Regions from separate parts of the Homo sapiens genome. Here region 1 is linked to region 2. Evidence: promoter capture Hi-C in human tissues and cell types (Jung and others, 2019). All regions are on one chromosome and are shown on one strand. Each heading gives the region's core, a stretch centred on a gene start or on the middle of the fragment in contact. The rest is flanking DNA. Distances are from core to core; before and after follow the strand shown. Region 1 has its middle 26 kb from the start of NRGN. Region 2 holds the start of VSIG2 (V-set and immunoglobulin domain containing 2).

Region 1 (4,370 bases), core at 1,208-3,707, 38 kb after region 2:
GGGTTACTAGTTTGGCATGGGGGAGTGGGTTGGGTAGGGCAATTCTAGGGTCTTCTACTTGCTACTGGCTCCTCCCTTATGGCCATAGGATACCTCACTCTGTGAGCTAGGAAATAGATATGAGGATCTCGGCAGTTTTTTGGTTGTTTTTTTTTTTTTTTTCCTGGAGACCGAGTCTCACTCTGTCACCCAGGCTGGAGTGCACTGGCGCGATCTTGGCTCACTGCAGCTCAGATGTGAGGGTCTTTTAATTACTAAATATATCTATTTTAAATATACCTCCTGAGGCTGGGAGCCACAAAATGAATCCATGATCCCACTGGACTTAGACCAAAACTCCCGCTTTTACCTGACTTCCATAAGCACATTCTGATTAGTGAACCAAGGTAGGATTTCAGGTTTTAGGATTAGTCAGTTTAATTCCTTTCTTACTGCCTTAAAGAAGGGAGTATCCTCTGGGCCTTCCTGGGGGGATATGGCTAGGAGGGGTTAATCAAGCTGCATATAATAGATCCATTTTAGCTTTCTCATGCCTGTTCACATTTAGACTTCTTCCTCTGTCTATAGTATGCCAAGTTCTGGCATTTCATCTTTACTGACTGTGGCTTGCTGTTGAGATTGACCAATCTAGCCGACTATTAGTGCCGCTTCCCAAGTGCTCAAACCATGACATTAAATACTGATTCCCAATTGTGCACCCATTTCAATAAATTCAGCTTAATCAAGTCTTAAGTTACATTCTTCTTGGCCTAACAACCTTACAATCCACTTAAATAAATGTTCTCCAGACTCCTGCTGATAAAAGTTAATGAAGTTCTGCAACTCTTTTGGCATAAAGTCTATCTCCTTGAGGCCTAGCCTCTATACTTTGCAATCTGGACTATGCTGGCATTTTACTTTCTTTGTGGATCTGGAAGCAATGAGGGGCAGTGGAGGTGGGTCTTGAGGAAAGTCACATTTTTTTTTTGTAAGGGAACTGCCTGAGGAATAGTCATTGAAAGGATTTTATTCAATGGAGTTGGGGTTGCAGGGTATAAACCTCCTCAGAGAGGTTTAGGGGGATTTTAGGATTCAGATTCTTAGTCTCATCCATGTCTACACAAATGTCTATATCGCATCTCTCAGGGTCCCATCTCTCTCCCTTAGTACCCTTTGCATATTGTAAGAAATTGAAACGGAAGGATTTGAGTATTTAATTGGTTTTGCATCTCTGCAGCTATTAACATCATTTTTCAGATGTGGTCTTCTTCCATATCAGTCCATTGACTAGAGGAGAAGGACTCCATTAGAGCTACTGTAGAGATGTTCTGATTTCCCATAATGTTTTCAGTTGGGTATGCAAGGCTTTCAATATGTTTTTTTCCGTGTTTACTCTTTAGAGCCATCAGAGACAGTCAGTTGACTCCACAGTCTTTATAATCACTATTGTCACCATGGTGACTAAGTACCACAGTCACTTTATTTCTATTGCCATCCTCCTTGAATTTATTCCTTGCCACCAACAATGGTAAGTCTAGTCACTGTTATGTCACTGAATGCCATGGATTACCAGTATCCACTGTTCTCCTGGTAAGGAGGTTACTTAAGAAGTTTTGTGCTTCTTAAGTATAAAAGCAATAGAATTTCAGAATCCTACTGTGGGGTTCTGTTTTCTTGGGCCCTTCCTGGTACCTATTCCTATATTTCTCTGGAACCCAGAAGGCAACATGAGGCAACCACTAAGCCACACTCAAATGTGGCTAAGCTCTAGGTGCTCAGGTACACGAGAATAGGGGTAATTGACGTGGATTTAATAAAGGTAATATTTATAAAGATGAAGGCAGGGTGGCAGATTAAAAAATTGACTTCAATTCTTCATTCTTATCTGTATCTGTATCCTTTCATGCCCTCTTGATGGGTGGACCGTGCTTCCCTGCCTTGTGTCGTTGGGCTTGGCCGTGTGATTTGTTTTAGCCAATGACATGCGAGTGGGAATGACAGCATGGCAGTTCTAAGCTTAGGCTTTCATAGGCATCATGTATTTTTGTTTGTTCTTGTGTGCCTCTGCTGCCACAAGCAACATGTTTGCTGATCTAATGAAGATGAGATACATGGGGAACAGAGTTGCTCCAACCACCTCATAGATCTACAGTGGGAAGCATAGCTGCTCTAGCTAGCAAGGCATGAGGTAAAGATGCTCAACTGAGCCCAGCGTAACTCAGCCCCACTCTAGCTGACCTGCAGATGTATGAGAAAAAAATAGTCTTTTAAAAGACACTGGACTTTGGCGTAGTGGTTATGCAGCATTAATGTTGCAATAGATAGCTGATGCTCTGGAGTAAATAAAAAACATTAAGAGATGGGACAGAACCTCAGAGATGTTGATGGTAGGCCGAAGGATCAAGGGGAGGAAGCAGTTACTAGAACCTGGAGAGTAGCTAGAGGAGAGGACTGTATGATAAGAGCTGTGGCCTTTGGTTGAGGGATGCAGGCAATCCATGAGAACCAGGGAGGGAGGCAAGGGGAATGAATAGCATCACCTTGCTCTCCTCCCACCCTCTGATCTCCTCCTGGTGCCTGCCATTGTCCAACCTAGAAGGCTAAGGAGCTCATTGATGCAGTTTATTTAAAAAATCCTCCTAGTGCATAAACACAATGAAGAATAGGTCTGGAAGGGAAAATAGAAAATATCTAAGCCATTGTGTGTCTGAAAATATCTTTGTTTTACCCTCATACTTGTAGGACAGTTTGGTGACACAGAATTCTAGGTTTGAAATAATTTCCTTGAGAAGTTTGAAGACAATCCCACTACTGTGTATGTATCTAAAGGAAATAAAATCAATATGTTGAAGAGCTATCTGCACTCCCATGTTTATTGCAGCATTACTCACAATAACCAAGATATGGAATCAATCTAAGTGTTCATCAACAGATGAATGGATAAAGAAAATGTGGGGCTGGGCGCTGTGGCTCACACCTGTAATCCCAGCACTTTGAGAGGCTGAGGCAGGCAGATCACGAGGTCAGGAAATCGAGACCATCCTGGCTAACATGGTGAAAGTCCATCTCTACTAAAAATACAAAAAAATTAGCCTGGCGTGGTGGCGGGCACCTGTAGTCCCAGCTACTCTGGAGGCTGAAGCAGGAGAATGGCATGAACCCAGGAGGCAGAGCTTGAACTGAGCTGAGATTGTGCCACTGCACTCCAGCCTGGGCAACAGGGTGAGACTCCATCTCGAAAAAAAAAAAAAAAGTGGTACATACACACAATGGAATACTACTGGGCGGTAAAAAAGAACGGAATCCTGTCATTCATATGGACATGGATGAACCCAGAGGACATTATGTTAAGTGAAATAAGCCAGGCACAGAAAAATGAACACTGAATGATTTCAGTCATATGTGGAATCTAAAACAGTCCATCTCACGGAAGTAGAAAGGAGAATGGTGATGACCAGAGGCTTGAGTAGTTGATGGGGGGATAGGGAGGTGTTGGTCAAAAGATATACCATCATGTGTCATGTAATGACATTTCAGTCAATGACAGATGGCATATACAATGGTGGTTCCATTAGATTATGATGGAGTTAGTTGAAGAAATTCCTGTAATCTAGTGAGGTCGTAGCAATCCTAACCTTGTAGCACACTTATTATTATTTTTTACAAATTTAGTGTAGCCTAAGTGTACAGTGTTTACAGTGTTGACAAAGTCTACAGTAGTGTATGGTAATGTCCTAGGCCTTCACATTCACTCACCAGTCACTCACTGACTCACCCAGAGCAACTTCCAGTCCTGCAAGCGCCATTCATGGTGAGTGCCCTATACGGGTGTATCATTTTTAATCTTTTATACTGTACTTTTACTGTACCTTTTCTATGTTTAGGTATGTTTAGATACACAAATACTAGCCATTGTGCCACAATTGCCTACAGTATTCAGTACAATAACATGCTGTACAGGTTTGTTACAGGAGCAATAGACTATACCATATAGCTTAGGTGTGTAGTGGGCTGTATCATCTAAGGTTTGTGTAAGTACACTCTATGATGTTTGCACAATGATAACATCGTCTAAAGGCAGAGTTCTCAGTATGTATCCCTGTCATTAAGAGATGCATAACTGCATAATTACAGTTAGGATAAATAAGTTCGAGAGATCTATTGTATAGCACAATGACTATAGTTAATGATGATATATTGTATGTTTGAAAAATGTGGCCAGGCTCAGTGGCTCACAACTGTAATCCCAGCACTTTGGGAGGCCGAGGCAAGTGGATCACTTAAGTCCAGGAGTTCAAGACCAGCCTTGGCAACATGGCAAAACCCCATCCCTACTAAAAATACAAAAAAAAGTTAGCCAGGCATGGTGGCGTGCACCTGTAATCCCAACT
Region 2 (3,993 bases), core at 556-3,055:
GTGTGCAGGCAGAGGTGGTATATAAGACCAAGCAGGTAGAAACTCTCTCCTCCTTCCCCCACCCACTTCTGACCTCTTGTTATTTCTTTGATGACTAGGGAGGATGCCATTGCTCCCCGGACCCTGCCCTGGCCCAAGAGCTCAGACACAATCTCCAAGAATGGGACCCTTTCCTCTGTCACCTCCGCACGAGCCCTCCGGCCACCCCATGGCCCTCCCAGGCCTGGTGCATTGACCCCCACGCCCAGTCTCTCCAGCCAGGCCCTGCCCTCACCAAGACTGCCCACGACAGATGGGGCCCACCCTCAACCAATATCCCCCATCCCTGGTGGGGTTTCTTCCTCTGGCTTGAGCCGCATGGGTGCTGTGCCTGTGATGGTGCCTGCCCAGAGTCAAGCTGGCTCTCTGGTATGATGACCCCACCACTCATTGGCTAAAGGATTTGGGGTCTCTCCTTCCTATAAGGGTCACCTCTAGCACAGAGGCCTGAGTCATGGGAAAGAGTCACACTCCTGACCCTTAGTACTCTGCCCCCACCTCTCTTTACTGTGGGAAAACCATCTCAGTAAGACCTAAGTGTCCAGGAGACAGAAGGAGAAGAGGAAGTGGATCTGGAATTGGGAGGAGCCTCCACCCACCCCTGACTCCTCCTTATGAAGCCAGCTGCTGAAATTAGCTACTCACCAAGAGTGAGGGGCAGAGACTTCCAGTCACTGAGTCTCCCAGGCCCCCTTGATCTGTACCCCACCCCTATCTAACACCACCCTTGGCTCCCACTCCAGCTCCCTGTATTGATATAACCTGTCAGGCTGGCTTGGTTAGGTTTTACTGGGGCAGAGGATAGGGAATCTCTTATTAAAACTAACATGAAATATGTGTTGTTTTCATTTGCAAATTTAAATAAAGATACATAATGTTTGTATGAGATAAGAAACAAGTTGCCTTTTCAAACTAAGAATTCTTGAAATTGAGCTTCAGGAGGATGCAAAGTGGACCCCTTCCCAAGCTGTGTACCCAGGAGGGCTTCCCCCCACAGGCTTAGAGCAGCTCTTCTAGTGTTTAGAAGGGTCCTTGTTTGTCACGTGGAGAAGGGGAGGAGACTCTAAGCTACTCTGAACAGCAGAGGGATGGAGTTGATACGCTTTCTGCTGGAGCTTGAGTGCTCCCGGCTAGGGGGTACGTGTACCTCATCTGCTTCCTCTTCAGGGACAGGGGAGAGGAAGCTCACGTGGGCTCCTCTCCCACACCACGGAATCCTTAACAAAACACTCCTTGCCCATCTGGAAGAGATCTCTGTTGTTACTGAGGGAGAGCTGGGCATAGTATGAGGTGCAGGTCTGTGTCCAAGTTCTGCCATGTTCTTTCCTACCAAGGGTGAGGTCTCCTTTAGGTCTCAGTTTCTCTGCCCCTAAAATGGAGTGGCTCTGGAAATGGAGAGATGCTCATTTCTACAGAGACTCCTACCTCAGTAAGTGGTGAAATGAAAAGCGCTGTGGACAGGAAGGGTCTGCGGCCTGGGGCTCACACTCACAGTGAGGCTCCGAGGTGGGGACTCCCCTTGCCAGCTCTGGGGTATCAGGACGCCTTCCAAAGTCAGCTTTCCTTCCGTCTCTGCAGAAGGCCCACCCCAAGCCCAGCGCTTTTCCCAAGGCCGGACAGCTTCAGACCTTGGGGAGAAGAGGAAGGAAGGAGGAAGAAGGGACAGAGGGATTGCAGAATCGGGGCTGGAGGAGAGGAGGGAGGAGCACTTTTTTTTTTTTTTAACCTGCGGCGCCGGCCTCTCCCCTGTTTGCTCTGAGATACCAGTCTCGCTCCTGCCCAGCCCGGGCGGCTGCCCTTGGGTGCTCCCTTCCCTGCCCGACACCCAGACCGACCTTGACCGCCCACCTGGCAGGAGCAGGACAGGACGGCCGGACGCGGCCATGGCCGAGCTCCCGGGGCCCTTTCTCTGCGGGGCCCTGCTAGGCTTCCTGTGCCTGAGTGGTGAGGAGGGGCCGGGCGGGACCACGGCGAGGGCTGGGGGGCATAGGCCTGGCTTCCCCGGCTCCTCGGACCCACTCTGTCCCCGCCAGGCCAGATGAGGCTGCCGTGGGCGCCAGGGGCCCTAAGGCGCCTGAGGTGAGGCCGGAGAGGGGGTGTCCAAGGCCCGGAGGGCGTAGGAGAGAGACCCCCAAGCCGGCGAGCGAGTTGGGCCTCTCCGCGGCACAGGCCTGAACCACCCCACCGCAGGGCTAGTGTTTTCCTTTCTCTGCTAAACACACACACCCTCTTACCTGGCCCGGTTCCGGCTCTTTTACCCACAAAGACCCGGCCCCTCCCGGAAACCTCAGGTTTTGGGAAGGGAGGGGTTGGATTGAGGGGAGAGGGTTGTGCTCTGGGGAGGGAGCCCCCAGCTTCCAATATAGATGCCCGGGGGTGGGCCCGACCCTCCAGATCACTGGAATTTGGGTTCCCACCTCCCTCTGGTCCCCGGCCCCAGGGCTGGCCGTGGAGGTGAAGGTACCCACAGAGCCGCTGAGCACGCCCCTGGGGAAGACAGCCGAGCTGACCTGCACCTACAGCACGTCGGTGGGAGACAGCTTCGCCCTGGAGTGGAGCTTTGTGCAGCCTGGGAAACCCATCTCTGAGTCCCATCCAGTGAGCTGAGAGCGACTGCATGAAGCTGGGTTGGCCTGGAGGGACAGGAGCCCAGGATGAGGGCATGGGGTCGGGAGGGGGAGTTTGGGGATCAGTATGCTTGGATGAAAAGGTAAGTGGGCTCTCCCTAGATCTTTTCAGAGCTGCAGTCTGCCTGACCGTGTATCTTCCTTTCCTCTTCCATAGCTCCTATTTCCAACTCCCCTGCCTTAGTGTATCCATTGACACTAAGGTGTTGTGACTGATACCAAGATAATATGCTGCCTCTTCTGCCTCTCTCTTTGAGAGAGAGAGAGAGAGACCAATGGATCAGGTTCATTTAGCACCTGAAAGGGGGTGGTGTTTGGGGACAGAGAGACCTTTGGAGTTCCAGCTTAAGGGTATCAGCCTCCCTGGCTGATGTAAGTCAGAGGCCTCTTATACCCACTTTGATGAGGAAGGACTGTAGAGTTGATGCCAGGCAGAAACAGGCACATATGTGTGTCTTCTGCCTCTCCCCAGATCCTGTACTTCACCAATGGCCATCTGTATCCAACTGGTTCTAAGTCAAAGCGGGTCAGCCTGCTTCAGAACCCCCCCACAGTGGGGGTGGCCACACTGAAACTGACTGACGTCCACCCCTCAGATACTGGAACCTACCTCTGCCAAGTCAACAACCCACCAGATTTCTACACCAATGGGTTGGGGCTAATCAACCTTACTGTGCTGGGTAAGGCAGACTGGGGATCCACGAGCCACATACTCTTTCACATACTTGGGGCGTTTGCACTGGTCTTGCTAAATCTCTGGTTTCTGACTTTTAGCCCAAGCACACAACTGCACTGGGGGCCCCAAGTGAAAATACTCCCTTTCCAAGTCTTCTAATTCAGATGGTCATACTCCAACTCCACCCTCCACCGAGAGCATCTCCTCCATCAGAGCCTAATAACAGAGTGTGTGAGAGAAAGTCCTTCCCATACATGGGGATCTGAGCCTGCTCCCAGCAGCTCCATCATGGGGGAGGCTCTCATCGGTAGTTGGATTCTGTCCCTCCCAAGGTCAATGGCAGAGAAGGGGAGTGGCCACCAAAGGAACAAGGGCCCCTATTACTGAGCACCAACTTCGTGCTCAGAGCTTCTGTCTCACCCCAAACTAGAGCCTTTTCAGAGATGAGCAACCAGAAAAACTATCACAGAGACTGGCAGTGTTTAGATGGAAAAGAGAAGGCCTCGGATGGGTGTATTACTGCTGGATTCAACTATCCAAAGGGCTGTCATGTGGAGGAGAGATTTTAATTTCTCTTTGTGGGCCCAAAGGGCAGGAACTGAAACCAATGGGTGGAGGTTATGTTAACACACATTTTGGCTCAACATGAAG

What was found. The method cuts DNA at HindIII sites, captures the fragments that hold promoters and counts their contacts. A contact is called where the count stands out against the background at its distance.
Region 1: a contact is called between a fragment that was not itself captured here and the fragment with the promoter of VSIG2 in region 2, in 1 of the 25 tissues and cell types used here (neural progenitor cells).

What each region holds. Positions count from the first base shown.
Region 1 is chr11:124,712,213-124,716,582 of GRCh38, reverse strand. No RefSeq gene overlaps it. Among named protein-coding and RNA genes, the nearest start is that of NRGN, 26 kb to the left of the region's middle. The HindIII fragment of the contact is 4,012 bases long and covers 452-4,370 here.
Region 2 is chr11:124,750,067-124,754,059 of GRCh38, reverse strand. It overlaps VSIG2 (V-set and immunoglobulin domain containing 2), which reads left to right and starts at 1,805. Exons shown (of 7, transcript NM_014312.5): 1 at 1,805-1,983; 2 at 2,480-2,637; 3 at 3,139-3,346. The coding sequence starts at 1,923. ESAM (endothelial cell adhesion molecule) reads left to right here. Exons shown (of 7, transcript NM_138961.3): 7 at 99-934. The coding sequence ends at 414. RefSeq lists an enhancer at 2,046-2,607. The HindIII fragment of the contact is 14,367 bases long and covers 1-3,993 here.